Linked DNA regions of Homo sapiens: regions 1, 2, 3, 4, 5 and 6 are each linked to region 7. The links are contacts of gene promoters, found by promoter capture Hi-C in blood cells and fetal thymus (Javierre and others, 2016). All regions are on one chromosome and are shown on one strand. The core of a region is centred on a gene start or on the middle of the fragment in contact, and the rest is flanking DNA. Distances in the headings are between cores, read along the strand shown.

Region 1 (3,322 bases), core at 8-2,507, 370 kb before region 7:
GTCCCTGCCCTTACACAGTGTATAAGCTAGTGGGGGAGGCAGACATAATCAAATAATCATGTAAGCAAAAATAAACTACCAAAAAGTAAAAAATTAAAAGAATTAATTACCAAAGATGATGGTAGCTTGGCTAATGAGGCGGCAATGAAGATGAAGACAAGAGGCCAAGATGAACAGGTCCTTAAAAGGTACTAAAAGCTAAGAAGACAGGTAGAGGAAGAGGTGTTGGAGTCAAGTATGATTCCTGGTCCCCAGGCCTGGGAATCTGCAGAAGGACCAGGTTGGGGGTAAAGGCAGTACATGAGTTTAGTCTTGGCCATGTGAAGCCCTAGATGTCTTGGCATGATCCAAGTGGAAATGTCAAGTGAGTCACTGCATATATGGGTTTGAGGGTCCAAGGACCAGCCATGACTGGAAACAAAAATTTGAGAGTCAGGTGGTGATGAAAGCCCTGGGTGTGAACAAAGTTCAAAAGTTCATTGAGTGAGAAGATGGGTTGGGAAGAGAATCAGGTGCAGAACTGGGTCTTGGAAAACTCCACCACTGAGCGTGGGGTCTCCCCAGTAACAAAGATCCCAGTCATTTTGGCACCACTTCAATGTGATGACTCCCAGTTCTGCCACTGACCCTGTGTGCACTCCGAATCCGGTACTTAATCTGTCTGAGCTTCCATGTCGCACACCCCACACATTCTTTGTCAGTCTTTAATCTCTCCCCTTTTACTAACCCATGCACAATTCCTGCCTCGAAACTCCTCCTTCACTCCCAGCCCCCACCCCAGCCCGTCGGTGAAAGGGAATGAGAGCTCCAGAACCAGCTGTTTCCTTTCTGAGAGGTCCTCAGGCCTGAATGCTCTTTGGAATCACCAGGGAATTTAACAAGATACTAATGTTCTGGCCCCACCAGGAGATGCTGATGTCATTGGTCTGGGTGGCCTGGGTGGCCTGGGTGGCCTGGGTGGCCTGGGTGGTGTGAGTTTTTCAAAGCTCCCCAGGTGGCGCTAGTGTGCAGCCAGAGTTTAGAATCTGGGCTTAGAACCAGAAAAGCTGGGATCACCCAAACTGGCCAAATCATTCCCTGGCTTTGTACACAACACTGTGACAGGAAGGATTTCTCCAGCACTGCAACTGGCAGCTGTAGCAGGCTCCCCCCAGCACAAGATGTGGATCTCCAGATCGAGGCCATCTTTGGCTCAGAAGGAGGGCACTCTTCACCTCAGATTTGGGGACATGTGACCCTTAGGGGCTGAGAGCCTAGACTTTGACATCAGACAGCTGAGTCCTAGGTCCTCTTACAGGCCTGGAGATTTGGACAATTGCCAAGGCTTTCTGAGCTTCAGTTTTCACCCTGTAAGAAAAGGAACACAGGGCCAGGCGCCGTGGCTCATGCCTTTAATCCCAGCACTTTGGGAGGCCAAGGCGGGCGGATCACAAGGTCAGGAGATCGAGACCATCCTGGTTAACACGGTGAAACCCCATCTCTGCTAAAAATACAAAAAATTAGCCGGGCATGGTGGCACGCACCTGTAGTCCCAGCTACTCAGGAGGCTGAGGTAGGAGAATCTCTTGAACCCAGGAGGCGGAGGTTTCAATGAGCCGAAACTGCACCACTGCACTATAGCCTGGGCAACAAAGCAAGACTCCATCTCAAAAAAAAAAAAAGAAAAAAGAAAAGGAACACAGTAGCCAGCAGTGTGGGAGTGTTGCAAGAGGGACTTGCTATAATCTCCATACACAGTACCAGCTCATAGACACTCTCAATAAATTGTTATGGGTGTGATTTTTATCAACAGCAAAGTTCCTCCTTCCTCCCATGAGTACCCTCTCTTCTCCCTCCTCTCCTCTATTCTCTAGTCACCCCTTTGACTCCCCAAAATGTTGAACAGGCTAGTGTCATAGGGCATATCCAACAATAAAAATATAATAATTATTACTTTTTTTAACTTTTATTTTAGGTTCAAGGGTACATATGCAGGTCTGTTATATAGGTAAACTTATGTCACGGGGGTTTGTTGTACATATTATTTCATCACCCACGTACTAAGTGTCATACCCAACAGCTATTTTTTTCTTCTCCCTCCTTCTACCCTCCACCCTCAAGTGGGCCCCAATGTCTGTTGTTCCCCTCTTTGTGTCCATGAGTTCTCATCATTTTTCTCCCACTTATAAGTGAGAGCATGCAGTATTTGGTTTTCTGTTCCTGCATTAGTTTGCTAAAGATGATGGTCTCCAGCTTCATTCATGTTCCTGCAAAGGACATGATCTCATTCTTTCTTAAGGCTGTGTAGTATTCCATGGTGTATATGTATCACATTTTCTTTATCCAGTCAGCCACTGATGGGCATTTAGGTTGATTCTATGTCTTTGCTATTGTGAATGGTGCTGCAATGAACATATGCGTGTATGTGCCTTTATGGTAGAACAATTTATGTTCTTTTGGATATATACCCAGCAATGGGATTGCTGAGTCAAATGAGCTACCACTTATTAAGTATTGACTCTGTGTCAGTCTTTACTGATGATTTAGACTTTAGCACAGATGCTCACACCAATGGCATGAGGCAGTAATGACCCCGTCTTCATGAGGTTCTGGAAGTTTAAGCATGAAGTTGTGACACAGTAGGCAGTAGCAACTTAGGCCTGTCTGACTCTAAAGACAGAGCTATTCCTACCCCTTGTAGTAATTCTGGTTCACAACTTGCTTATTGGTCCATTTGTCATACTTAGATTATTTTAAAATTATAGAATCTTAGTTTAAACTCTGGAATGGGTAGTATTAAACTGTGCTCCACAGGGCCCTAGGGATCCACAAGGATAAGGATAAGGAGTTTGCTGTCCCCTCAAGAAACCACTGGAAAAGAGCATCAGGTTGGCATATTCCTACATGCTTTGGGAAACATGTGAAGCCAGGCTTTGATGCCTGCAACCTCCACTCCAACCAGAGCAACTCTACTTCCATCTATTGGGAAAACCACCAATTTTACAGATGAGGAAATTTTCAGTTAGCTCGAGGCAGGGCCCTTTCCTCCTCCCAGAATGCAGAAGACGCATGACTTTCCCACTCCAGAGCTTGCTCCATGGTACCAACCCGCCATTTTTGCAACCACAGGGGCCCTTCCTCTGCCTGATGGGCTGCCATTAGGACACAAAGAGGGGCACCCCCCCAAAAGGGCCAGAGGCTTCACTGCCCTGTTTGTACTCGATTCCCAGGTCATTCCTATCAACCCCACTGGCTGTGGTGTCAGAAAGTGCAGACTTGTACTAAGCGCTGGGTCACCCTGAGCCCCCTGTTTATTTTCCTTCCTGGATACATTGGTGACTCG
Region 2 (3,439 bases), core at 226-2,725, 350 kb before region 7:
CTCTCAATGGGAGGAGTGTCACAGAATTTGGAGGTCATAGTTTAAACTATCACCAGCATTTGGAGTGCAGCTAAAATTGGGTGCAACTAAACATAAGAGGTAAATAACAACTGTGAGATGTGTAATTTATTGAGCATATACTATGTTCCAAGCACTTTACTTCCATATTTTGTTTATCCTTACGAAAAACCTGTGAGATAGGTAGGCATAATACTCCTCATCTTACAGAGGAGGAATCTGCGTTCATACCGTTGGCATGAATACCCAAAGTGCTTCAGTTAATGAGTGGCCAAGTTCAGATCCAAGGCAGTCACACTGCAAGACCATGCTTTTACCCACTCTGCTTTACTAATTTTTAAAGTCACTGAGCAGTGATAACTTACTCTAGCCCTCGCTCACTGAAGCTGCCTGTGAGGAATTCAAGCTTGGGGCCAGCCGTCAGGAGAGGGAGGTGGCATCCCAGAGCAGGGCTTCCTGTGTAAACAGGAGGCGCATGGGAAGCGGCACTGTGGTGCTGGGACAATGGGCAGTGAGCAGGCAGGGCCTCCTGTCTCCGGTGGGTGCTCAGGGCTGCAGGCGGCTGGGCAGGAACAGCTGGGGCCCTGACTCCCTGACGCCTGGCCCAGGAGAGGAACTGCCCCTCTCATGGCTTTCCCAGGAGGAAGTTCCCCACTGATTCCCGGGAAGCCCTTCCCATCACAGGCCTTGGCTGTGCCTGGGCCTCCTCTTTCTTCTTAAGGAGCATGTTGTCTTTGGGGCTAATCTGGGATACAGGCCTCTTCTGAAGTCCCCATGGCCTGGAGGCTTGGAGGGTGTGGGCAAGCAGGCCAGGCCCAGATGCCAATGCAGGAGGCAGCCACTGCTGAATGTGCACTAAAGAAAAAATGCATAAGGCATTTAAAAAAAACAAACAAAACTTGAGGCATGTAAAGCAAGAATACTTGACTCCACATCCCAGCTCCATCTCTAACTAGCTATGTGGTCTTGGGGAAGACACTTAACCTCTCTGAGCCACAATTTCCTCATTTGTAAAGTGAGAAAATAATATCTATCTGAAAAGAGTTGTTTGAAGGTTGAATGAGATAATGTTTGTAAAGTAACTGACAACTAGTAAGAATAATTATAACTAAGAGCATTTAAAGCACATAAGTAGACTCCCATCTTTGACAAGCAACTAGTCTACAGTGTATCACCTAAATTTTCACCATCACAGAGACGGAGTCTCTCTGTACCAATCACCACATAGGGGGGCAAAGCACCCAACTCCTGGGAAGCCAGAGAAGGTGGGTCTTGGAGAGGGTTCTGAGTGGACCCTAACCACTATCTTCCCAAGGCTTCCGTGGCACTACACACTTGGCCACCTCTGCTTCTTCAGCTACTCCTGCTCCATCATTTTAGTTTCCCCCAACTCTACGTATCTCTTTTCTTTAATGTTCTCCTCCTCTCTGTCTCTCCACACCCTCCTTGAGTGACTTCATCTTGTCTCATCTGTAGACTAAGAACTCCCAAACCTCCCTCCTGAGTCCAGACCCGCATGTCCAACTGCCTCCAAGACATTTCCCCCTGGATGTCCCTCAGGCACTCAAATGCAATGTGTTCCACACAGAGATCATCATGTTCCCAAGAAACCTGTGCCTCGAGCCTTCCTCGTCTCAGGGTAGCCACAACCTATGCCTAGTAGACCAAGTCAGAAAACTGGGAGGTGCTCAATCCTCCCTCACCCTCACACCTAATCAGCCGTCAAGACTCATAGATCCCATCTCCTAAATGTCTCTCCAGGTGGACCCTTGTCTCCATCTGCCTGCCCCTTCCTTACTGCAGGCCCATCTTCTCTCACCTGGACTCTGCTTCAGGTTTAGCACCCTCCCTCCATCCTCCACACTGCAGCCACCTTCATCTTCTTAACATATAAAACCTCTCTTTCACTCCCATTTTACACCCCTCATGTTCTCAAGGTAAAGTCCAAGCCCCTCAAGGAGGCACCCTAGGCCCTCAGTGATATAGACCTTGTCAGCCTGTCCGAGCTCATGACCCGCTGCCTGACACACCTCTCCTACACTGGGTACTGCCAACCCCAGCCACAGGTGCTCTCCCTGTGAGGGAAGGAACCTCAGGTCTGGGCCTTCACACACATGCTTCCTCTTACTGGAATGCCTTCCCCACACCTTCTTTGGCTCCTACGCATCCCTCAGGACGCAGCCCCAGTATCACCTCCTCCAGGAAGACTTCCCATGTTTCCACAGCCTCAACCTTCCCCCATCACAGTATTTATCAAAGTAAACTGCTTTTGTCTGTTTACTTATCCAACTCCCCACTAAACTGTACCTCCCCAAGGGCAAGAACAAGACCTTCCCCTTCTCCAAATCCTCACGCCCAGCACGGGGCGTATAAAGAGGAGGTGCCCTGGATACACACGTTCACTCAAATGCATGAATGACAACTTCTACCAACCAGGGGGTGGCGCTAAAGGCAGTCCTTGGGAGATAGTCAATCTCAAGTAAACCCACTTACGTTGTAGAAGCTTCCTCCTCCCAGAAGGCAGATATAGTTTAAAGTTTGCAAGCATCCTGCTACAAAGCCCTCAGAGCTAAAAAAAAAAAAAAAAAAAAAAAAAAAAAAAAAAAATCTAGTGGGATCCTAACAGAAATCCCCTCCCAGGCATGTTGGGGGGCCAAAGTGGGTGGATCCCTTGAGCCTAGGAGTTCGCGACCAGCCTGAGCAACATGGCAAAACCCAGTCTCTACAAAAAAAATACAAAAAATTAGCCAGGTGTAATGGTGCATGCCTGTAGTCTCAACTATCCCGGAAGCTGAGGCTGGGGTCAGAGGATCACCTGAGCCCAGGAGGCCAAGGCTGCGGTGAGCCATGATCACACAACTGCACGCCAGCCTGGGCAACAGAGGGAGACCCTGTCTCAAAAAAGAAAAAAGAAAAAGAAGTCCCCTTCCAGGCAGGAAAAATGGAGAAATATCAGTAAAACATTTGGTTTTACTGGACTTGGCCAGGACTTGGCTGAAAGTGACAATGGGAGCTTGCAGCGTGGGAGAGCCATCGGGCATCAGGAAGACAGGAGGAAGGCGAGGTGACCAGTGTGCAGGACCCCAGCTCTCAGGAGCTGCTCTGGGCTTGCGCGTCTGTGCCCGTGCACCTGAACCCCGAGCGGCGAAGCCGGGGCTCCCCGCGGGCTTCCTGCATCGCTGCCTCCAGGAAAGACATCACCCGCCTGTCCCGGGCCCTGGTCCCCATCGCCGGCTGCCGCTTCCGGCGGGCCTCTGCGGGGAAGGAGCGCGGTACGAAAGTGAGGAAGCCCCCCGTCGCTGGGGTGAGCCCCGCTTCCGGTCCGGAGGGACGCGCCACGCTCGTCCTACACCCTGAGTCCTACACCCTGAACACCCGTCAGGCCTGGAACAACACCGGGAAACGTGCCTTCCTTCCTCCA
Region 3 (3,649 bases), core at 461-2,960, 400 kb after region 7:
TCCTCATGATATGGGATACTTAAGCAGGTGACTTTTCTCTCTCAGGTATCAAAATAATGGGAAACTGTAGTGTTCAGTTCAAGATGTCAAAGATCAATATTTTTCTTCTAAGAATGCCCAATTTCAAAAGTAAGAATGTCCATGGTATACATTTTACTATGTCTTAAAACTAGCAGGAGAGTTTGGAAAATCAACGTAATTACAAAGCACATCACTTTGTTCATTCAGAAGAATCATCAGGAAGATATTAAGTATATTTTTGTAAATACTTTATTACATTAGTCTGAAAAAAAGCTCATGACAAAGATAAACAGTAAGACAGAAAAGAAAGAAGACTCCTAGTTCTCACTAAACACATAGCTAGACAGTGGGACCTTTGTGGCGAGCCCTAGAAGTTTTGCCAACAGAAGACCTAGGCAAATATGTTAGCATATACACTTAGCAGCAAGCTAAGTTTCTTCACTAACTGCTGGGTGTCATGTACGTATAATTAATAGATAGGAATATTACTTCTATAAATTAGTATACACAAAAGGACAAAATCTGGCTCTCAGCCAGGGAAGAGTGAGGACTCCATGAAACAGTCTGTAAGGGGTAGTCTAGGTACAAGAGGAAATCCTTAGACTAATGTAGAGAAGCTTCATTGCTGGAGGCAGAAGTAAAAATAAATAAAGGAGTTGTCACACTTTCTGTGAAGGAAAACAATTAAGAATTAGAGTGATCTGTAGGCCACCCAAGCTGTCTCAACTGAACTGGATAAGGGTGGGTAGAATTAGAAAGAGTACAAAGGGAAGACACTTACCTCCTTTTCATTTGTATTGTGAAGTTTTTCTATTGTGTTATTTCTTGTAATACTTATTTTGGAGGGTAACTCTTTTTTAATATTTAATTTTTGATGCTTCATATTATTTAAAATAAAGAATCCATATTTAAGAACCAGAGAAAAAGTTTTGTCCCCTGCTTGTTTTTTCTGATGCCTGCTGAAATATCTTTATATACTCCCCCGCCGTTAGCAATAAGTTCTTATAGGGAGGAAGAAATAACTTTTCCAATTTACTCAGAACTCCAAATCAGTAAAAGTTAATTACCAAGACACAGTACCAGCTTAAAACTTTTGAGCCACCAAAAATAACTCTGGAGAACTACACAAACTCTAGTTTTCTGATAATATAGTTAACTAAGTCAACATATATTTTCTTCCCCCCTCCCCTGAGACGAAGTCTCGCTCTGTTGCCCAGGCTAGAGTCCAGCAGCATGATCTTGGCTCACTTGCAACCTCCGCCTCTCGGGTTCAAGCAATTCTCCTGCCTCAGCCTCCTGAGTAGCTGGGATTACAGGCGCGCACCACCACATCCAGCTAATTTTTGTATTTTTAGTAGAGATGGGGTTTCACCATGTTGGCCAGGCTGGTCTTGAACCCCTGACCTCGTGATCCGCCCGCCTTGGCCTCCCAAAGTGCTGGGATTACAGGCATGAGCCACTGTGCCCAGCCAACACATATTTTCGTATTCTGAATTTGCTACCAAAATATCCTCAAAGGCAACTCAAATACCTCCTTTAAAACAACAACAACAACAAAAAAAAAAAAACAGAGATGCCGTCTTGCCCAGGCCGATCTCAAACTCCTGGGCTCAAGGAATACTCTCATCTCAGCCTCCCAAGTAACTTGACTACAGGTATGTGCCACTACATCCAGCTCAAATGCTTGCTTTTAGCATGTACTTCATTTTTAAAGAACAAACAGTGGAAGCAAAGAGGCAAAAGTGGTGAAAATTCTTGTGCCCACCAGGGTACCATTAAAGCACCTGCTAACACATGTTTTCCTCAAAATAACAGAATCACAGAGTTAGAAGGACTCTCAACAATAATCTGCTCAATCCCTCGGTTTACAAATGGGGCTTCTCATGATCTTTACCCATTTGTCAGATCTTCAAATGTACAGTTAGGACACAAATAACTGTACGAACATATCAAGAAACAATATATGACAACCAAAAGCTACAGAAGAACTGAAAAAAAGCACTACTATAATACAAACAGGTAAGTTTTGCCACTCCATTTGAGTACATGTTTTCCTGGTTTTCTGACATAGTAAGTTCTAAGTACCTCAGACCCTCCTATCCAGAGATTGATTTTGATGTTACTGTTCTATCTTTACTGTCTATAGCTCCACATCTCTTACCTCTCAATGATGTGTATCTTAACATAAGTTTCCCCCATTAATAGCAATTCTTTTGCTGCTCTGTGCCTGGTTCATTCAATATAACATGCACTGAGGAAAGCATTAAAAATAAATTTATCTTTAATAAAGAAGATAAGCAAGGCACAGTCCCTGTTCTCAAGAATTCATATTCTCTTGTTACTATGTTTACATGATTATTTCCCTATTAGAATATAAGAATTATAGTATACACAACATAAAGGCGGCACTGAGGAGGACATTTGTAAACCAGGGGAATCAGGGAAGGCTTCTTTCAGGAATTGGCTTTGGAAAATGAGTAAGAGTGTACCAGGATGGACAAGGAAAGAAAGAATCAATGTCACAATCATTGCCACAGGGCATGCAAAGCCAATACAAGTAAACAATCAGCAAGTATACTAGTTGCTGGCACTGAAAAGAACAGAGGATAGAGAGGCACCGCAGGATGTAAAACACAAAAGGCTAACCAATAGGTGGACCACAATTGGAGATTTCACACTGCCTTTTGGTCAAAGTTACATGCTAGATGCCAAAGAAGGTATAAGAGGACATTAAGGCAGAGCCTTGCATTTAAGAAGCTTAGTATCTGAAATTGTTATGTATACGCAAAAATAATCATATAAGTTGCTCAGACAGCAAGCAAGCTGAAGGGGTATGATCACTTATTCAACCTTATCTTACTCTACGCTTTTGTCTAATGTATTCATTTATCTGTATAGGACAATTCTGATATTTCACTGCTCCTTGTAGATCAGGTCACCTCTCCCCTCCCAGTCCTCTTCTCTCTTCTTTCAGAAGGCAGCCTAGAAATATAAGAGGTAGGGAGAGAAGGCAATTTGTACAGATATTAAATGGGTTGATAAGAGAAAGAACGTCTAAAAAGGTGACATTTGAGCGAAGTCCTAAAGAAGGTGAAGGAGCAGACTGTGCACCTACCTAGGGGTAGAGCTTTTTTTAGGCAAAAAGAACAGCAAATTCAAATGCCCTAAAATGAGAAGTATCTGCCATAATCAAAGAATAGGAGGCCATTATAGCTGGAGCAGAATGAGCAAAGGAGAAAGCAGCAGGAGATGAGGCAGAGAACAGGCGCCAGATGGTAAAGAGCTGCACTGTCCAGTAAGCCAGCCTCTAGCCTCATATGGCAATTGAAATTTGAAATGTGGCTAGGAAGTGAATTTTGTTTATATTTTAAACTTTAATTAAAATTAAAAAACCAATACTGGATTCAGTTATTTTAAAACTTTTAAGAATGATTTGGAACTACTTGGGTATATGAGTTTACATTTTCAACTATAAACTTTATGACACCTAAATATGAATCAAGTATTTCCAATAAAAATTTAGCATCCAAATTGTATAAACTATACATCAGATACTGAAGACTTGCTATTTTTGCAACAAATTTCAGTAATAACTTATTACACAGATATATTGAAATAATATTTTGCT
Region 4 (3,167 bases), core at 188-2,687, 500 kb after region 7:
CCTGGTGTGTGATGTTCCCCTTCCTGTGTCCAAGTGTTCTCATTGTTCAATTCCCACCTATGAGTGAGAACAGGCCGTGTTTGATTTTCTGTCCTTGTGATAGTTTGCTCAGAATGATGGTTTCCAGCAAGGACTTCATGACTAAAACACCAAAAGCAATGGTAACAAAAGCCGAAATAGACAAATGGGATCTATTTATTTTATTTTTAATTTTACTTTAAGTTCTGGGATACATGTGCAGAACGTGCATGTTTGTTACATAGGTATACATGCATGGTGTTTTGCTGCACCTATGAACCCGTCATCTAGGTTTTAAGCCCTGAGAGCTGGGATATCAGGAAGCCCGGTGTGTGATATTCCCCTCCCTGTGTCTGTGTGTTCTCATTGTTCAACTCCCACTTATGAGTGAGAACATGCTGTGTTTGGTTTTCTGTTCCTGTGTTAATTTGCTGAGAATGATGATTTCCAGCTTCATCCATGTCTCTGCAAAGTACATGAACTCATTATTTTTTATGGCTGCAGAGTATTCCATGGTGTATATGTGCCACATTTTCTTCATCCAGTCTATCATTAATGGGCATTTGGGTTAGTTCCAAGTCTTGGCTATTGTTAATAGTGCTGCAATAAATATATGTGTGCATGTATCTTTATAGTAGAATGATTTATAATCCTTTGGGTACCTACACAGTAATGGGATTGCTGGGTCAATTTGTATTTCTGGTTCTAGATCCTTGAGGAATCGCCACACTGTCTTCCATAATGGTTGAACTAATTTACACTCCCATATGGTGGTAATCATTTATAAGCAGGGCCTTGAAACATGTGTCAACCTTTAATTGGAACAAAAGGAGGTGGCAAAGGACCATCTATACCAAGAGGCAGCATAGAATAGAGGCTAGCCCAGACTGGAGCCAGGCTGCCTGGGTGTGAATCTTGCCTCTGGATCTTGGGCAAGCTTCTTTATTTCTCTGTGGCTTAGATGATAATAGTACCTCCTCAAGGGCTTGTCCTGAGAAATAGATGAGTGCTTCTTTGTAAAGCATTTAAAAACAGTGTCTATACATAAAATAAACAGCCCAGAAGTGTGAAAGTGTGGAAGGCAAGTAATATGGTAAATGGGAGATGCAGCTAGAGAGGTACTTTTGGAAGCAGTTCATCAAAGTCTTTGAATATCACTCAGTGTATTTGGAATTAGCCAATAAGGAACACAAAATCCATTCCCCTGTGGCTGGAGCTCAATAGTGGTTTCCCACCTTAAACAGGGCCTGCACTCTCAGGTTTGCCACAATCCCTAATGTTTCCTAGCCCAGCACTCCACAGATTTAGTGGTTCTAAATCAGTAAGTCTGGGGATCTGCATTTCTAACAAATTCCCAGGTGATGCTGATGCTGCTGGTCCAGAGACCACACTTTGAGAACCACTGCCTTATTGTACCTTGGACAATAAGATGGAGAATGAGTTGCCATTTATCATCACACATGTACTGTGGTTTCTTTCATATCTGCTACATTTTGTGCATTTAATGTTACTTTTCTGGCCCTGGTGGAACTTGGGTTTGCAATTCCTGGCATTATCAGTATGGAATGGTTGGGTATAAGATCACAAGAGACCGAGGGGCTAGAGAGAAAGAGATTTGGGGGTGACTGAGGCTCAGCCTAGAGCAAGCCTATAGTAGCTGAAGCTGTGAGCTCATTCCTAGGGATAGCGTGCAGGGAGAAATGGGTTGCAGGTGGATAGCAGAATATCAAGGGGGCAGTGGCACACCCTGTCATAAAAGAAAGGGGAAAGAATAGCCACTGTTTAAGGAAGAGCATTCAAAAAGGTAGGAGGAGAGATGAGAGAGAGAGTGGCTGATGGAGAGTTCTTGACTTTATTATTAGAGAGAGGACTGTTGGCAAACATCTGACGCCAAAGCTTAAATAGTTAAACAGTGCAGTTCTCAGGTGAGCTCACCTGAGAGCTGGGACATCAGGAAGCAGGTGTCTTATTACCCTTGCCCACAGCATGCCTGGTAACCTGCTGTTGCTCCGAGGCACAGCTTGTTGTGAGTAGTCGTCTCTGAGGCTCTGGTGGCACAGTTGCAGCTTTGGAGCTAAGCATGGTGAGTATCATGTCACCCATCTCTACTCAAAATACAAAAAATTAGCCAGGCATGGTGGCGGGCACCTGTAGTCCCAGCTACTTGGGAGGCTGAGGCAGGAGAATGACGTGAACCTGGGAGGCAGAGCTTGCAGTGAGCCGAGATCGCGCCACTGCACTGTTTCATAACATGGCAGAAATGTGCTAGTCTTCTCATGGCCATGGTGGGGGTGCTTATGTCAGGCTGGTTTTCTTTTTGGAGTACTTGTTGGGAAAGAGTATCTGAGAAAGGGAAGGATGGATCTGAAACTGAAAAGGTGGGCCAGTGGCATCCTGTAGGCAGTCTCAAGACCAGGCTGAGAGGTTTGCGTTTGGTACAGTGGGAATAGGGAGCCATGCTGAGCTCCAGGGTGGGGAGCAGCTGTGTGGTTAATATGGCTCCATAGCCCAGGACCTGAGCTTGGGCTGGGCCCACATAGGCATACTATAAATGAGGAGTGAGTAAATGGATGAATTGGAGGTTTAAGGGATAAAGGATGATAATCTGATCAAAGCAATATTTTAGGAGGAATAGCCCCAAGAATCAATGTTGAGTGGTTCAGAGTCCATAAGCTTTGGTGCCAGATGAACCTACAATTACACTTCAAATCTGGTCTCCTGTTTTCATCCATTTTGTACTGTTGCAACAGAATGACACAGACTGGGTAATTTATAAAGAAAAGAAATGTATTTCTCACAGTTCTGGAAGCTTAAGTCCAATATCAAGTCCAATATCAAGCTTGAAGTCCAATATTGGGCAAGGGCCTTCCTGCTGCATCATCTCCTGGTGGAGAGTGGAAGGTCAAGAAAGCATAAGAGCAAGAGGGAAGGGGACTGAATTCCTCCTTTCATCAGGAACCTACTCCTGTGATAACTAACCCACTCCTACAATAATGACATTCATCCATTCATGAGGGCAGAGTCTTCGTGACTTAATCACCTCTTAAATGTCCCATCTCTCAACACTGCTGCATTGGGGATTGAGTTTTCAACATATGACCTTTGGGGGATGCCACTGAACCACTCCAGAAACCAGTTTCCTTATTTGT
Region 5 (3,493 bases), core at 491-2,990, 280 kb before region 7:
CAAGGAAGGCAAGGAAGGCAAGGAAGGCAAGGAAAGGCAAGGAAAGGCAAGGAAGGCAAGGAAAGAAAGGAAAGAAAGAAAGAAAGAAAATAGAACTCTGGAGGAAAGTTAGGGGAACCAGGAAGACTCCTGAGCATTAAGAACCACAGCTAATTCTTTGGGCAGATTTCCCTATTTTCTTTACATCCAAGGACAAGAATTCCTCTGCCCTGCCCAGGGAACAGAAGCCTGCTGTGCCCACTCAGAGGAAGATTCTGATCAGAGAACACATCAGCATTTAGAAAATTGCAACTTCTAAGTCATCTTGGGCAGGGTGAATGCTGTGGGCCAAGCTGGAGATGCAGGGCAGTGGGAGTGCAGACTGAAAAAATGCAGACCCCTGGGGCACTACTCATTTCTCAGGCTCTGATCTGCTGTAGTACTAGGGGTTTACTCAGGTCTGTGTCTGCCTCCTTTCTGAATAGGCCAAATAATTTATCCAAACAGCTTTCCTACGGCAGCTCTCCGCTCCACGTGGCCAGATAGGAGTTCCAGACCAGTGTTGTCTCCTGGGACATTGACACAGCAGCCAAGTTTATTGATGCTGGGGCAATCACAATTGGTTGGTTGGTTTGAGATAGGGTCTCACTTTGTCATCCAGACTGGAGTGCAGTGGCACAATCACAGTTCACTACAGCCTCAACCTCCCGGGCTCAAGCGATCCTCCCACCTCAGCCACCTGAGTAGCTGGGACTACAGATGCATGCCACCATGCCCAGCTAATTGTTTGATATTTTGTAGAGACCGGGTGTTGCAATGTACCCAAGCTGGTCGTGAACTCCTGAGCTCGAGCAATCTGCCTGCCTGGGCCTCCCAAAGTGCTAGGAATACAGGTGTGAGCCACCACACCCAACCCACGATTGTAACTGGCTCAGGGGCTGGCATAGCAATGGTGTCTGGCAACTTGATCATTCACTATGCCATCAGCCCATCTCTCAAGGAACAGCTCTTCTATGCCATTCTGGACTTTGCCCTATCTGAGGCCATGGGACTCTTCTGTTTGACAGTCACCTTCCTCATCCTCTTTGCCATGTGAAGCTCCATGGGGGTCACCTACTCACCCTTGCTGCTACAACTCCATAACATTCCTGGTGCTGGCATGTGCTGAGTTTTACCATTAAACACGTTTCTCTTTTTTTTTTTAAAAAAAAAAAAAAAGGCGGGGCAAGGGGGCGACTTTCTTGGTGGAACAAATACTGCACTGGGAATCCAGAACTTAGAACCCTAGTTTTCAGTTCTGGTGCTTTGGCTAAGAGGCTGTGTTATGTTAAGCAAACTTCCTCCAGTAATTTCCTTTTACAGAAGATACAACTAAGTTAACCTGTTTTAGACCCAAGGCTGGGACAACAGCTGTCAGAGTTTTCTGAATGCCCGTTCTGGTTCAGCTATACCTTGCTTTCTTTAGTCATCTTTATAGAGCAGTGAAAAATTCACCTTTATGATAAATGATTGTATTACCATGTGAAACTTTCCACCACAGCAAGCCAGGCAAAAATATGACTGTATATGATCCCTGCTGAAGGGAAGTATGTAGAAATAAAATGACTCTTGTACTGCAGTAGTGAGACTGTTGAGTGGGAATGTGGGCAGGACATGAGGGTTTCTTTTTTTAAAGTTTCTACAACATAGATTGTGCATGGTGTCTCACGCCTGTAATGCTAGCACTGTAGGAGGCCAAGGCAGGAGGATCCCTTGAGCCCAGGAGTTCAAGACCAGCCTACACAACATAGGGAGACCCTGTCTCTTAGAAAAAAAATAATACAGTGGCTCATGCCTGTAATCCCAACACTTTAGGAGGCCAAGGCAGGTGGATCATGAGGTCAAGAGATCGACACCGGCCGGGTGTGGTCACTCACGCTGGTAATCCCAGCACTTTGGGAGGCTGAAGCAGGCGGATCACGAAGTCAGGAGTTCGAGACCAGCCTGGCCAGCATGGTGAAACTCCATCTCTACTAAAAATACAAAAAATTAGCCGGGCATGGTGGTGTACACCTGTAATCCCAGCTATTCGGGAGGCTGAGTCAGGAGAATCATTTGAACCCAGGAGACGGAGGTTGCAGTGAGCTGAGATCACGCCATTGCACTCCAGCCTGAGCGATAGGTGAGACTCTGTCTCAAAAAAAAAAAAAAGAGATTGAGACCATCCTGGCCAACATGGTACACCCTGTCTTTACTAAAAATACAAAAATTAGCTGGGCGTGGTGGCACGTGCCTGGAGTTCCAGCTACTCAGGAGGGTGAGGCAGGAGAACCGCTTGAACCCGGGAGGCAGAGGTTGCAGCGAGCCTAGATCGCACCACTGCACTCCACCCTGGGGACAGAGCAAGACTCCATCTCAAAAAAAAAAAAAAAAAAAAAATATATATATATATATAGTAATAATAATAATAACAAAATTAAATTAAAATTTAAAAGTCACTATAACTTTGTTGTTATGTTTTCTACTTGTTGGTAATATTTAAGCACCTAGGCTGGGTAACATAGCGAAACCCCATCTCTACAAAAAAAAAACAAAAAAACAAAAATTAGCCAGGCATGGTGGCAGCACCTGCAGTACCAGCTGCTCAGGAGGCTGAGGTGGGAGGATTGCATGAGCCCAGGAGGTTGAGGCTGCAGTGACTGTGATCGTGCCATTGGACTTCAGCCTGGGCAACACAGCAAGACAATGTCTCAAAAAAAAAAAAAAGATAACACAAATTTAAAGTGATATAAAAGATATAATAGGCTGGGCATAGTGGCTCACACCTGTAATCCCAGCCCTTTGGGAGGCCAAAGCAGGCATATCACCTGAGGTCAGGAATTCGAGACCAGCCTGGCCAACATGGTGAAACCCCATCTCTACTAAAAACACAAAAATTAGGGCCAGGCATGGTGGCTCACGCCTGTAGTCCCAGCACTTTGGGAGGCTGAGGCAAGTGGATCACCCGAGGTCAGGAGATTGAGACTACCCTGGCCAACATGGTGAAACCCCCGTCTCTACTAAAAATACAAAAATTAGCCAGGCATGATGGCGCGTGCCTGTAATCCCAGCTACTCGGGAGGCTGAGGCAGGAGAATCACTTGAACCTGGAAGGCGGAGGTTGCAGTAGCTGAGATCTCGCCATTGCACTCCAGACTGGGTGTCACAGCAAGACTCTGTCTAACAACAACAACAACAAAAAGTAGGCATGTGTGGTGGCAGGCCCCTGTAATCCCAGCTATTTGGGAAGCTGAGGCAGGAGAATCACTTGAATCCGGAAGGCAGAGGTTGCAGTGAGCCGAGACTGCGCCATTGCACTCCAGCCTGGGCAACAAGAGCAAAACTTTGTCTCAAAAAATTAAATAAATAAATAAATAAATAAATAAATAAAATAAAGTGATATAATAGATTCTTAAAAACTATTCAAGTTTGCTTAAGACAGCAAAATGTGAAAAACTCATCTCTCCTCACCACCCAATCATTATTGCCCATTGTA
Region 6 (3,430 bases), core at 134-2,633, 300 kb before region 7:
GTACGACTGATGTCATTATAAGAAGAGGAGAGCCACAGACAAAGACAAAGAGAACAGAAGGAGAGCGTCATGTGCCCACAGAGGCAGAGAGTGGAGTGATGATGTGTCTGTAAGGCCAAGGGTTGCCAGCGGCACCAGAAATTAAGTTGTCCCCGAAGTTCATGTGTTGGAAACTTAATCCCTAGTATACCAGTGTTGAAAGATGAGATCTTTAAGAGATTGCTAGGTCATGAGGGCTCTGCCCTCATCAATAAATTAATACCATATTGTGGGAGTTGGTTAGGTATCTTGGAAGCGGGTTCCAGATAAAATAATAAATTTGACCCCCATTCCCTTCTCTCTCTCAAGCATATTCTCTTGTCTTTCTGCCTTCCACAATGGAATGAGCAGCAAGAAGGCCTTCAGCAGATGCAGTGCCCTTGAACGTGGCCTTCCCAGCCTCCAGAACTGTAACAAATAAGTCTATGTTCTTCGTAGATTACCCAGTCTCAGGTATTCTGTTATAGCAACATAAAGTGAACTAAGACAGAAGACATGGATCAAATTCTCCCCTAGAACCTTCAGAGAGGGCATAGCCCTGCTGACATTTTGATTTCAGACTTCTAGCCTCTAGAACAAGGGTTCCAACCCCTGGGCTGAGGACCAATACCAGTCCATGCCTTGTTAGGAACCGAGCTGCAAAGCAGGAGGTAAGTAGCAGGTGAATGAGCATTGCCTGAGCTCTGCATCCTGTCGGATCAGTGACAGCATTTGATTCTTTTGGGACCGTGAACCCTATTGTGAACCGCACATGCAAGGGATCTAGGTTGCACACACCTCATGAGAATCTAACTAATGCCTGATGATCTGAGGTGGAACAGTTTCATCCCAAAACCATCCCCCAGTCCCCACATCTGTGGGAAAACTGTCTTCCATGAAACTGGTCCCTGGTACCAGAAAGGTTGAGGACTGCTGCTCTAGAACCATGAGAGAACACATTTCTGTTCTTTTAAGCCACCAGTTTGTGTACTTTGTCACCATTGCCTTAGGAAGCTGACATACTCCTCAAGGAGGTGGAACATAACTCCCACACTTAAGGAGTGGGCATAGTGACTTCCTTCCAAAAAGAACACTGTGGAAAGGGCGAAAAAAAAGTAACTTTACAGTAGCGAAACCTGATGAAGCCAGGTGACCAAACTCAACATCAACAGTGATGACTCATGTTGATTGTATGTACCTTGATATGATGTGATGAATATGTGGTCTTCCTCCCAAAAACCTATAACCACCAGCCAGGCACGGTGGATCACGCCCTGTAATCCCAGCACTTTGGGAGGCCAAGGCAGGTGGATCATCTGAGGTCAGGAGTTCGAGACCAGCCCGGCCAACGTGGTGAAACCCTGTCTCTACTAAAAATGCAAAAATTAGCTGGGTGTGGTGGCGGGAGCCTGTAATCCCAGCTACTCAGGAGGCTGAGGTAGGAGGTTGCAGTGAGCCAAGATCCCGCCACTGCACTCCAGCCTGGGTAACAGAGCGAGACTCTGTCTCAAAAAAAAAAAAAAATAGCCAAGTGTGGTGGGGGACACCTGTAATCCCAGCTACTTGGGAGGCTGAGGCAGGAGAATCACTTGAACCCAGGAGGCAGAGGTTGCAGTGAGCCAAGATTGCACCACTGCCCTCCAGCCTGGGCAACAGAGTGAAATGTGAAACTCCATCTCCAAAAAAAAAAACATCCATAACCCCAGTCTAAATGTGAGAAAAACATTGAAAACATTGGACAGATTCCAATGGAAGAGCATTCTACAAAATACGAGACCAATATTCATCAAAACTGTCAAGGTTATCAAAACCAAGGAGAATCCGAGAAACCACCCCAAGCCAACAGGAGCCTAAGGAGACATGATAACTAGATGCAGTGTGATACACTGAATGGTATCCGGGATTACAAAAAGGACATTAGGTGAAGATTAAGGAAATCGGCTGGGCGCAGTGGCTCACGCCTGTAATCCCAGCACTTTGGGAGGCCAAGGCGGGCGGATCACGAGGTCAGGAGTTCAAGACCAGCCTGACCAACATGGTGAAACCCGTTTCTACTAAAAACACAAAAATTAGCCGCGCATAGTGGCATGGATCTGTAATCTTGGCTACTCAGGAGGCTGAGGCAGGAGAATCACTTGAAACTGGGAAGTGGAGGTTGCAGTGAGCCAACATCGCACCACTGCACTCCAGCCTGGGTGACAGAGCAAGACTCCAGCTCAAAAAAAAAAAAAAATACTTAAGAAAATCTGGGCCAGGTGCAGTGGCTCACACCTATAATCCCAGAACTTTGGAAGGCCAAGGCAGGAGGATTACTTGAGCCCAGGAGTTTGAATTTACAATGAGCCATGATCATGTCACTGCACTCCAACCTGGCTGACAGAGGAAGGTCCTGTCCCTAAATTTAAAAATAAATAAATAAATCTGAATAAACTGTGGACTTCATTTATAATCATTGGTCAATATTGGTTAATTAATTGGAACAAATGGACCATACTAACATAAGATTAATAATAGGAATAATAGGAGAAACAGAGTGGAGTAAAGGGGTAACTATATGTTCAATTTTTTCTTTTTTTTTTTTTTTTTTTTTGAGATGGAGTTTCACTCTGTTCACCCAGGCTGGAGTTCAGTGGTTTGATCTCGGCTCACTGCAACCTCTGCCTTCTGGATTCAAGTGATTCTTCTGCTTCAGCCTCCTAAGTAGCTGGGACTACAGGTGCACGCCACCACACCCAGCTAATTTTTGTATTTTAAGTAGAGATGGGGTTTCACCATGTTGGCCAGGCTGGTCTTGAACTCCTGAACTCAAGTGATCCACCCGCCTGAGCCTCCCAAAGTACTGGGATTACAGGTGTGAGCCACAACGCCTGGCCTATATCTTCAATTTTTATATAAGTCTAAACAGTTCCATAAAATAAAATCTGCTTCAAATTTTTTTTTTTTTTGAGACAGAGTCTTGCTCTGTGGGTCAGGTTGGAGTGCAGTGGCACAGTCTTGGCCACTGCAACCTCCGTCTCCCCGGCTCAAGCAATTCACCTGCCTCATCCTCCGAAGTAGCTGGGATTACAGGCATGTGCCACCATGCCTGGCTAATTTTTGTATTTTTAGTAGAGACGAGGTTTCACCATGTTGGCCAGGCTGGTCTTGAACTCCTGACCTCAGGTAATCCACCCGCCTCGGCCTCCCAAAGTGCCAGGATTACAGGTATGAACCACTGCACCCAGCTTCAAAATTTTTTAAGATTAAAAAAAAAAAAAAACCAGTGTTGCAAAGATGTCAATATTCCTCCAAAATGCTATAAAAGTTAACTTTTTTTTAAGAGAACAAATTTATTATGGTGCTTACTCTACGACAATTTGCCATTTGATCTTCATATCATTGCTGGTGGGCATCATAATGGACTTTTTTTTTC
Region 7 (3,166 bases), core at 356-2,855:
TTTACATGTCTTTAAAGAAAGCTTTTTGCGTATCTCATACGTACCCATCAATCTTTTAAAATCCCTTCCCTAGCAACCCAACACCTAAGTTTCAGAGCATGACTTAAACACCAACACGTTGCCACTGTTCATCTAATCCACCTGAATTTTGCCTTAACTTAGGTTTATTCTTACTGGGGACTGAAATGGTTCGTTCAAGATAAACCGAAGTCAGTTTAAAAATTACTAGATGATAGTAGTTACTAAGATGCTCATGGTTCCCTTTTCAGCAAAGGCCCCCAGGTAGGGCCAGCCAATAATGCAAGTCACACTCAAGTGTTGACATCTTCATCTCCGGGCCGGCCCCTTATGAAGTGAGGGGGGTCTCCAGTAAAATCACTCAGGAAGCTCCTCGAGCCAAGTATTCCCAAATGCTACTTACTGGAGGTACAAAAAGGAGAATAACTTTTCTGAGGGCCATTTCACAATCTATACCAGAAGCCTTGTGGTATAGACCGTGGATTCTATCTTGTTTTAGAACGAATCTTGTGCGATTCTTTCTACAGAAATGATCACGCTCAAAAACCCAGATACAACGATGCTCAATGAATTACTTTTTGCAATAACTAAAAACTGAAAACCACTTGTACGCTCACCATCAGGGAGAAACTACATTTAGTAAATCACAGTCCAAAGCCATGCCAAGAGTCAGGGATGGATGAGGTAGTCAACCTGACACACAGGAATGTACAGTCGAGAGAGAGAGAGAGAGAGAGAGAGAGTCGAGAGAGAGAGAGAGAGAGTCGAGAGAGAGAGAGTCGAGAGAGAGAGAGAGAGAGAGAGAGAGAGAGAGAGAGAGAGAGTTTCAGCACTTTATGATGCAGGTTCTGCAAAAACAAGCCCCGCTCATGTTACAAGGAAAAACCATCTGGAAGAATATACACCCTCATGTTAACGCAGCTTGTCTCTGGGGAGCAGCGGCACGGCTGCTTTGCTTGCTTCCTTGCTTTCTGTTCCACGTTTTCGACAGTGAGAAGTATTATCTTTAGAGGTCGCGAACAGGCCGGAGGAGGGTGCGGCAGGTCGCGGGGCAGGGCCTCGCTAGGCAGGGACGCCCCCGCACCGCCCCGGGCTGGCCCCGCGCCCCGCGCCCCGCCGCACCTCCACCTTTGCCGGCGGTGAGCGGGAGCCGCGTCCCGCCCCGAGGTCTGGGATCACCGGCGGGCCGGCTGGAAGCGTCCGGAACTCACCCAGCGTCTCACCCGCGCGGGTCTCACCGACCGCGCAAACACCGCCCGCCGCCGCCGCCCAGAGATGGCCGCCGCCGGCGCAGCAGGGCCGAGAGCGTGGGGACGCCGGGGGGCTGAGTGCAGGGGTTTCCAGGGTGCGGAGCGGGCGGGCCCGAGGCGTCCGGGCGGGCGCAGGCGCGACACCGACCCCACCCGGTCTGCTGCCTCACCTGTGCTCTGTGGGCCGCGGGAGGCTCTGGGGTAGGTTTCACCAAACAACCGGTTGGTTCCGACTCGGCTGCGTAGGCCGCGTGGCCTTGCTCCCCTGGCCGAGAAACAGGCGCAGCCGGCGCGGAGGTTGAAAGCTCTGCAGGCGCGAGTACCAAACGCGCCGACTGTTTGTCGCGCCTCTCAGGTCCCCTGGGGCGACCAGCGCAGGAGGCCACCCCTCCCGCCGCCACGGACCCAACCCTGGTCCTCTGCCTTAGCCGAAGGCCGCACCCTCCGCGCATAGGCCTTCCTCAGCCCCAACCCAGGACATCACCATGTCCCGCAGTGCGTCCAGTCTTCCTGCCAGCAAGTGTGGGTAGGAGCCGGCCGCTGGCCCCGCTCTGGGCTAGACGGTGGGGACATACTGGCGGGCAAAAACAGCCCTGTGCCTGCTCTGCAGCTATGGGGAAGGAATATCTGTTCATGGCAGCAATAGCATTCGCTCCTTAAAACCTCTTTATGAGTCTCATTCCTTTTTTAAAGACCCAAACTACTTAAGGTGGGCATGAAGCCCCCATGTGTGATCTAGCCTCTGCCTGCTTGGCTTCATTTAGGTCCTTAAAGGATGCAGGTTTCTTCTCGCCCAGGGCCTCTGCAAATGCTCTTCTCTCTGCCTGGACACTCCTCACCTCTTCCCTATTGTGAGAGTTCTTCATATATCATTTCTTAGATTACACTATCCTGGCCCATAAGACTTGCAGCATTGCTGGGTGTGGTGGCTCATACCTGTAATCACGGCATTTTGGGAGGCAGAGTGGCGGATCTCTTGAGTCCAGGAGTTCAAGACCAGCCTGGGCAACATGGTAAAAAAAAAAAAAAAGAGAGAGAGAGAATGAGAAAGAAGAAAAGAAAATAATTAGCGGCTCAGGCCTGTAATCCTAGCTACTTGGGACGCTGAGGTGGGAGAATTGCTTGGGCCCTGAAGGGAGGTAGAGGCTGCAGAGAGCTGTGATTGCACCACTACACTCCAGCCTGGGCAACAGAGCGAGACCCTGTTTCATTAAAAAAAACACACACAAAAAGAAACAGCCGGGCTCAGTGGCTCACGCCTGTAATCCCAGCACTTTGGGATGCTGAGGCAGGCATGGCAAAACCCCGTCACTACTGAAAATATAAAACTTAGAGGGGCGTGGTGGTGCATGCCTGTAGTCCCAACTACTTGGGAGGCTGAGGCAGGAGAATCGCTTCAACCTGGGAGGTGGAGGTTGGAGTGAGCTGAGATTGAGCCACTGCACTCCAGCCTGGGCGAAGAGCAAGACTCTGTCTCAAAAAAAAAAAAAAAAAAAAACAGCCGGGCACAGTGGCTTACACCTGTAATCCCAGCACTCTGGGAGGCCAGGTGCGGATTGCCTGAGGTCAGAAGTTTGAGACCAGCCTGGCCAACGTGGTGAAACCCTAGCTCTACTAAAAATACAAAAATTAGCCGGGCGTGGTGGCATGCGTCTGTAATCCCAGCTACTCAGGAGGCTGAGGCAGGAGAATCACTTGACCTTGGGAGGTGGCAGTTGCAGCGAACTGAGATCGCCTCACTGTACTGCAGCCTGAGCCACAGAGTGATACTTCGTCTCAAAAACAAAAACAAAAAAAACACAAAAATTGCAGCACCAGGGATTCTTCTTCCTAGCCCCTTTCAGGGTGTGCAATAATTTGTGTAATTTTTGCTTAATGTGTAACTTAACAGTAGACTG

The links. Contacts are between HindIII fragments. The CHiCAGO score rates a contact against its expected background, and 5 or more counts as called.
Region 1: a contact is called between a fragment that was not itself captured here and the fragment with the promoter of FAIM in region 7, in 4 of 17 cell types (megakaryocytes, neutrophils, erythroblasts and 1 more). The highest score is 8.4, in megakaryocytes.
Region 2: a contact is called between a fragment that was not itself captured here and the fragment with the promoter of FAIM in region 7, in 11 of 17 cell types (naive CD8 T cells, activated CD4 T cells, total B cells and 8 more). The highest score is 9.5, in naive CD8 T cells.
Region 3: a contact is called between a fragment that was not itself captured here and the fragment with the promoter of FAIM in region 7, in 4 of 17 cell types (activated CD4 T cells, total CD8 T cells, naive CD4 T cells and 1 more). The highest score is 8.7, in activated CD4 T cells.
Region 4: a contact is called between a fragment that was not itself captured here and the fragment with the promoter of FAIM in region 7, in 1 of 17 cell types (M0 macrophages). The highest score is 5.8, in M0 macrophages.
Region 5: a fragment that was not itself captured here is called in contact with the fragment with the promoter of FAIM in region 7 in 16 of 17 cell types (M1 macrophages, total B cells, total CD8 T cells and 13 more); the score reaches 12.2 in M1 macrophages.
Region 6: a fragment that was not itself captured here is called in contact with the fragment with the promoter of FAIM in region 7 in 17 of 17 cell types (total B cells, naive CD8 T cells, total CD4 T cells and 14 more); the score reaches 24.1 in total B cells.

Annotation. Positions count from the first base shown.
Region 1 is chr3:138,977,605-138,980,926 of GRCh38, reverse strand. No RefSeq gene overlaps it. Among named protein-coding and RNA genes, the nearest start is that of PRR23A, 27 kb to the left of the region's middle. The HindIII fragment of the contact is 4,943 bases long and covers 1-3,322 here.
Region 2 is chr3:138,960,428-138,963,866 of GRCh38, reverse strand. No RefSeq gene overlaps it. Among named protein-coding and RNA genes, the nearest start is that of FOXL2NB, 15 kb to the right of the region's middle. The HindIII fragment of the contact is 2,097 bases long and covers 427-2,523 here.
Region 3 is chr3:138,206,029-138,209,677 of GRCh38, reverse strand. The region is part of intron 1 of ARMC8 (armadillo repeat containing 8); the gene reads right to left. Among named protein-coding and RNA genes, the nearest start is that of ARMC8, 21 kb to the right of the region's middle. The HindIII fragment of the contact is 2,140 bases long and covers 641-2,780 here.
Region 4 is chr3:138,107,126-138,110,292 of GRCh38, reverse strand. The region is part of intron 1 of DZIP1L (DAZ interacting zinc finger protein 1 like); the gene reads left to right. Among named protein-coding and RNA genes, the nearest start is that of DZIP1L, 6.9 kb to the left of the region's middle. The HindIII fragment of the contact is 959 bases long and covers 958-1,916 here.
Region 5 is chr3:138,886,834-138,890,326 of GRCh38, reverse strand. It overlaps the pseudogene ATP5MC1P3. Among named protein-coding and RNA genes, the nearest start is that of PIK3CB, 54 kb to the right of the region's middle. The HindIII fragment of the contact is 5,394 bases long and covers 1-3,493 here.
Region 6 is chr3:138,903,346-138,906,775 of GRCh38, reverse strand. All of the region lies in intron 1 of LOC124906289 (a long non-coding RNA gene), which reads left to right. Among named protein-coding and RNA genes, the nearest start is that of LINC01391, 39 kb to the left of the region's middle. The HindIII fragment of the contact is 8,530 bases long and covers 1-3,430 here.
Region 7 is chr3:138,607,210-138,610,375 of GRCh38, reverse strand. FAIM (Fas apoptotic inhibitory molecule) reads right to left here and starts at 1,605. Exons shown (of 6, transcript NM_001033031.2): 1 at 1,439-1,605. RefSeq lists an enhancer at 868-957 and a silencer at 1,058-1,517. The HindIII fragment of the contact is 4,797 bases long and covers 24-3,166 here.